Regions from separate parts of the Homo sapiens genome. Here region 1 is linked to region 2. The links are contacts of gene promoters, found by promoter capture Hi-C in human tissues and cell types (Jung and others, 2019). All regions are on one chromosome and are shown on one strand. Each heading gives the region's core, a stretch centred on a gene start or on the middle of the fragment in contact. The rest is flanking DNA. Distances are from core to core; before and after follow the strand shown.

Evidence for each region. Contacts are between HindIII fragments. The study calls those that stand out against the background at their distance.
Region 1: a contact is called between a fragment that was not itself captured here and the fragment with the promoter of LUZP2 in region 2, in 2 of the 25 tissues and cell types used here (hippocampus and small bowel).

Annotation. Positions count from the first base shown.
Region 1 is chr11:24,599,560-24,603,253 of GRCh38, forward strand. All of the region lies in intron 1 of LUZP2 (leucine zipper protein 2), which reads left to right. Among named protein-coding and RNA genes, the nearest start is that of LUZP2, 100 kb to the left of the region's middle. The HindIII fragment of the contact is 3,577 bases long and covers 1-3,447 here.
Region 2 is chr11:24,495,222-24,498,619 of GRCh38, forward strand. It overlaps LUZP2 (leucine zipper protein 2), which reads left to right and starts at 1,832. Exons shown (of 12, transcript NM_001009909.4): 1 at 1,832-2,084. The coding sequence starts at 2,023. The HindIII fragment of the contact is 10,753 bases long and covers 1-3,398 here.

The DNA.
Region 1 (3,694 bases), core at 409-2,908, 100 kb after region 2:
AAGCATAGATAATCAATCACACCTGTCCAAACTAAGCAGCTAATGATCAATTGACCTTACTCACATCTGTAGTATTTTGGTTGTTATTTTGTTTATTGTCTTTTCTTTCTCCTCAGTTACCATATTTCACAGTTTTTTTCTGTGTTGCCTTTAAAATACAGAAACATCTGAGAGTCTCATCGAATAGCTGAGATATACTGAGATATTTGTTAATATATTCTTACTATTTTGGTGAAACTACTAAATTTGAAAAGTACGTAAAAAAAACAAGATTTTCCTCATTCATATGGCTTGTGTAACATTGCAATTTTTCACGACTCAAAGTTCTTTGCATCTTATTTTCACACATAAGCATGGGTTACATTTTGTTGATGGGGAACACATTTCAGTGCTCTTCTTTGTTTTCAAGTAAACTCATATTATTAAAAACAGCAGCTATAAAATATTCTCCATAAAAGATATGTTGAATTCCTAACACCTGGTACCTGTGAATGTGACCTTACTTGAAAATAGGGTCTTCATGTAAATTAAGATGGGTCCTACTGAAGTAAAGTGGGCTCTTAATCCAATGACTGGTGTCTTTATTAAACAAGAGGATATATAATGTAGATTACAACACACACACACACACACACACACACACACACACACACACACACGCACAATGGGGTAACATCATGTGAAGTCACAGACACACAGAAGGAAGAAAGCCCTGTTGCAGCTTAGGCCGAGATCAGGATTATACAGCTGCAAGATGAGAAACACCAAGGAATGCTGGCCACCACCACAAGTTAGGAGAGAGAGCTTGATTTCAGATTTCCAGCCTCCAGAACTTTGAGAGAATACATTTCTGTTGTTTTAAGCCACCGAATTTGTGGTGCTTTATTATGAAGCAATAGGAAACTAACAGAGGGGGAATGGAAATTTACAGGTTAAAAAAGTTTCGCTGCCATTTCTGGTTATTTCATAGAGAGGAAAGCTTGTAACTCAGAGACACCCTAGTTCAAATTCTAGTAATTTCACTTGGAAGCTTTGTATTTTTCCGCAAATTATCAAACTCTAACTAAAACTTAGCTCACTTCTGTTCATAAAGATCGTGATTGCTTCCTACCATTTTTAATATTAAGTAAGATTATGTGTCTTAAAGGCCTAGTGCTTTATCTAGGCCTAAGGAAAGGTAGTATAAACGTAAGCACAGGAAAAAAGAGAAGGATGTGCTCATGGTATGCATTTGCATTACCTATTATAGCTGTTTAAAAAGAAGGTAGACACGCTAGACTCAATAAAAAACAAAAACAAAAAGTAAAATTACTGTGGTTATACAATGTCGTTGGCAGGATTTTCACCATGGTGTTACTCATATGAATATGTTACCTGAAAATAGCAAAACAGACTTCACAAATGTAATTAAGAGTACTAATCAGTTCAGTTTAAAAGAAAGATATTATTTAGATGATCTGATTGAACCCAATCTAATCAAATAAACCTTTCTCTTAGATGAAAAGCAGACCTTTTCCTTAGGTGAAGACATAAAGGGAAGTCAGAAAGACTTAAAGTGTGAGAAAAAGTGAATATGTCATTGCTGACTTGAAGATGGAGGGGTACAAATATCAAAGACATGGAGATCTCAGTTCTACAAACTTGAGATGCCAAATTCTACCCACAAATGGAATGAATTTGGAAATATATCCTTCTCAAACTACTCTTATTAATTTATTATTGTTTATATTTTGAGGCCCTATACAGAAATGTCAGCTGTGTGGTACTCAATTTCTGATCTATAGAATTGTAGATAACAAATGTATGTTGTTAAAAGCCACTAAATTGGTGGAGTTAACAATTTTTTTAGGCAGAATTAGAAAACTAATGCATATAACTATGTAAAGATAGAATAAAGATGATAGTTCTGATTCTCTTTATTGGTTTCTTTTTACTTTACCAGCTTTCTTAATAGATTACATCCACATTTTGAGTTGACTTAAACAAATACATTTCTAATGAAGTTGAATAAGAAAAGTCATGCATTATTTTATCGGGTAGCCTATCCAAATTAATTTGAATTTTCTCTGCCCAATATATTTTATGGAAACACTATTTTAAATTTTAAATTGTTTCAATGGATAATATGAGAAAAAATTAAATAAATTCCATTTACTGCTAGCATTTACCAGCAACCAAGACACAATACCTCAGAATCTCTTAGAATTTCTGACTTAACCAAGTATATTAATTCTTATCCATGGCAGCAATACAAGACTGTTTAGATATAGTTTATCACAAATAAACAGGTATATATATATATATGTGTATATGTATACATGTATATATGTATATATGTATATATGTATATATGTATATATGTATATATATGTATATATGTATATATGTATAAATGTATATATGTATATATGTGTATATGTATATATATGTGTATATATGTATATATATGTATATATGTATATATGTGTATATATGTATATCTGTATATATGTGTATATATGTGTATATATATGCGTATATATGTGTATATATGTATATATGTGTATATGTGTATATATGTATATATGTATATGTGTATATATGTATATATGTATATATGTATATATGTGTATATATATGTGTATATATGTATATATGTACATATATGTGTATATATGTATATATGTACATATATGTGTATATATGTATATATATGCAAACATATATGTACATACATATATACACACATATATATGTACATACATATATACACACATATATACACACACATATATATACATATATATGTATAAATCTCTTTTAAAGTGTGTGTGTGTATATATATATATACACACACACACACACACACACACACACATACATCCCTATAAATATGGGGAAAATAAATAAATGCACTATGGGCACATGTGATCTTTAATAAAGTTAAAATTGGACCTAATCTGAATAAATTAAAATGCTAAGTGAGCATTTTCCTATTAGAAGATTTAGACTCAGAATTTTGAAAGGGGATTTTTGTCTCACAAATGCTTTATTTCAGATATCATGTGTTGAATTTTGAGAGTGACAATTTCATTCCCCTAACCTAGAATCAAGTAAAAAATATAAGCAGAAAATGCAAATATCAACTCATTTCTATTATTATTATATTATTATTGAAAACGCCAAACTGAAAAGCACCTTGGATGTATGGGCACAATCAGGTTCTTTTTCATTTCCTCTGTTTTCAAGCTTGCTCACCAATATGGCTTCCCATTTGATAACTTTTTTCTTTATTCCTGGAGGGAAGAAGTACAGTGAGATTAAGGGAAGGTGGAAGTCTATTACTGTTATTTCACAAAGAACGAAAATTACTATTATATGGCAGAATAACTATCTAGGGTAGAACAATGTAAATGTTTATATTAAAATCTTTAACATTGGCAGAATATCTAAGTTTCATAATGTACACATGTTACTGTGATTTCCAAATTTCTAAAGTAAAATGTAGTTATTATCTATTTTTGTATAGCTTCTATACGGCTATGGCACATTCAGGTCCCAACAGTCTATAACAAGCAGTATATTTGGTTTCAAATGGTATGACAGGTAGCTTCTTTTAGGAAAAAACAAGGTCCTGAGAATTAATGTGAAACCCCAAGATGAGGATGAAGTGGAGAGGCTATCAAGCTTTCAAGAGTAAGATTTTCCATCCTGC
Region 2 (3,398 bases), core at 582-3,081:
TACTTGGAATCAGAGTTCTGTTTTAGAAAAGTGTGGTGTCGTTTTTTTCTCTTAAATGATATGCAATTCACATGTTAGTTTATTTGTATATGCCTACTTATTAGGCATATACAAGATCGATAATGTTGTGGATCTTATTATTATTGCCCAAGGGGCTAATATTCACTTTTCAAAACTTATTACTCATCTAGTTCAGCAGCTCAAGATTTTGAAGCAAATCTGTTTTACATACATGTCTTAACCTTCAATCCCATTTAAAAAAAATAGTAAATTAGATGGTTAACCTTTTAGATTTGCATCCTCTTTAAAATAAAGCTTTACAGCAAATGCATTTTTCCTACAAATGTCTTCGAAAATGAGATTGAAGAGGATGTATCATCTAAATTTTTCTGTAAAGAGCTTGCCCCCGAAATAATTGGAACATGAACTGAAACCTCTAGATAGGAATTCCTGGACACAGCTGTCCATTATCTTTCGGGACTTTGGTGCACCTCACCCTTTACTGAACACAACTTTGTGTCAAACACTGGGCTAGGAGTGCTAGTTGTGATGTTTGAGGCAACAGTGGAATTTTTCTTAGGACTTAGTAGAACCAGTTCTTTTTTTTAATATGCATAGTCAGATTTTGATGATATTCAGTCTGCTCATATCTATAATAGTGATATTAACGTCTATTTCACTAGGATGGCTCTTGTGAAGATTAAATTAAATACTGTATGAAGAAGTGCCTTATACACAGTTATATAACCAGGATAATATCCAGATGGAATTCTCATTCTCTCTCTCTCTCTCTCTCTCACTCTCACTCACACACACACACACACACACACACACACACACACACATGCAATATCATCTTATAAATATCCTAGAATTGAATATCTCAGTAGCAGAGATAGTAGTTCTGTTTCTCAGAATTGCTTTTGCAAAATGGTGTTTTGGATTATAATTGTGCTATTTAATTTTTCTAATTAAAATTTCTAAATAGAGCCTATTAAATATTGGATGCTTATGATAGAACATTTGAAAATATAGAAAACCAAATGACCTACAAAACCTCTACCTTCCAGTACCATCATTCCGAGCTGATTACTGTTAACATTTTAATGGTTTTTGTCCGCTAGGTCTCCTTGATGAGTTTCACCTGAGGAAAAGGACTCCTTCAGGTGTGTGAACTTGAGCCACCAGGTCCAACCCCATTGGCAGGTGCTGGTACAGACGACTGAAATCAGAGGAAGATCAGAAATCTTCAAAACCCAGAGCAGCAGATGTCTTAACGGTCCCGAAACGTTCTTTGGTTCTTTGCAGTCAACATTCACGGGTTAAGAAGATTGCAATGCCATGACGGGCTGAGGTTGCATTTCTGGACGCTGCTTACTCCCGCTTCCTTCCATCTGTTTCAGGCAAATCATTATGCAGTTCTAATTAGAACAATCTTCTAAACACTCTCTCCAGAGCGACGTTCTTCCAAACACGGTTTAAGCGGCGAGAGACACCTGCCTAGGACCCTACGCGTCTGGAAGTCTCTCCCAGTGAATTGGGTCTCATCTCCTGCCGAGTACGCAAGTTCAATTATCGGCAGATTAGGTTTCTACTCTCCGTGCCCCGCCCCGCGCCATCCTGGGGAGCAGCGGGAATAAATGATCCGCCCCTGGCCAGTGCTCACCCGACTGACCAGAGCGCAGCCCGGTGACCGAAGCGCACGGGGCGATCGCGAGGCGCCCCCTCCCTCTCCCCGCGCCGCCTCCAGCGCGAGTGACGGCGCGCCCTCCGGGCTCCGGAGCGGCGGCGCCGAACAATCCCCGGCAGGGCTCGCCTCGCCGGTGACATCACTCCTGAAGATACTCCTCGCTCCCAGCGCCTGCCTTCCCCAGGCGTCCGTTCGTGTGCCCGTCTCCGCCTTTCCGCCTCGGAAGAGCGCTCATCACTGGCTGGGGACAGAGCCGGGCACCAAGGAGCGACAGGATCCCGAAGAGAGAGAGAGAAGGCAGCGAGGGAAGGAGGACCCCGGCAGGCAGCAGCATGAAATTCAGCCCAGCGCACTACCTGCTGCCTCTCCTGCCTGCGCTGGTCCTCAGCACCAGGTGAGTCCAGGAGCGTGAGTGACCTGAGGCCAGGGGCGCTGCCGGGGCGAGGTTGGTCCTACTGTGGGTCACCAGTGGGGGCCAAGGCACTTCAGCTGTTTGCATCTCCCGCCTAAGCAAGAGGGACGCTGTATGGTTTGGGCTCTGAAATCCTTCTGAGAGAGCAGAGCCCTTTCCTAGTTATCCCAGCCCCCTGGAGAAAGTCTTAGGATTGCTCTCAGTGAGGGATCAAAAGCTTTCTCTTCCGAAGGAGAGAAAAGACATTTTACCCTCCGGTCCTATTAGTAGCCAAAAGGTAACACGCGGTAAAAGAACAAAATAAAGAACGGAAATAGGCAAGGAGGGAATTGCCACCAGGCAGTGTCTTTACATTGGAGTTGTCTTAATAACCATAGAGCTTCTCCCTTCCCCCAAGTGTGCCTGATTTAAGGAAGAGGAAACCAGAGAAAACAGATTAATCCTGGAAGATGCTAAGACTTGTACAAAAGTTCCTGGACTCCTGAAATGGCATGTTTCAACGTCTTGGATAAGCTTAGTGATAGGCGTTTTCTTTTGACTGTCTTGTGAACAGGTCTAATTAAAGAGCACAGAAGGCGATTAAAAGTTAGAAGACACTCTCAGAGTGCTGATGCAGAGACCCTAGTCAGAAACAATTAAGTACTGTACTCCATCACTGGCCATGGATGGGACTTTAAGCCCCATTACAGAGGAGCTATTTTTGGTGGAGATTTAAAATGCAGAGATTGAGAAGAGTTTTGTGACTCCCCACTGTTGATCAAGTCCCAAAGTTGTGATGGGTTTGCTTTTTTCTTCCACAAGCGCAGCACAAAGGTGGACTGTTTAGTTGCCCAGGACTGTCTTTATTCTGCATGCCCTTAGCATCATATTGGCAGCAACCTCTTTCCCTTGGCTACTATAAAATAAAATAACCCACACAGGATGAAGATCCTTTCAAGTCTACGTGAATAGAAACATTATTTGATTGTGCATCTGATGGCAAATAAAGTAGGGATATAGGGTTGTTTCTAATTCTGAAATGGAAAAGGATGAAGAAAACTTACTCTGTCTTACAAATCAAGGCTGTAAAATTCTTGATTCCGTTCCTAATCTACACACCTTCTTTCAGGCCTGTGTAACCAAACTTTCCTTTTAGTGTAGAGACTATTTCATTTACCCTCAATAATTGATAAATTTAGTCTTTCCTTGCAAACAAAGCCCAGGTGACTTTCCCAGATTAAAATGAAATGTAAGTTTGATTCTTCATTTTCTGTAAGGTTTGCTTGTCACTTCAGCTCATAAAGTGCAGATGGTTTT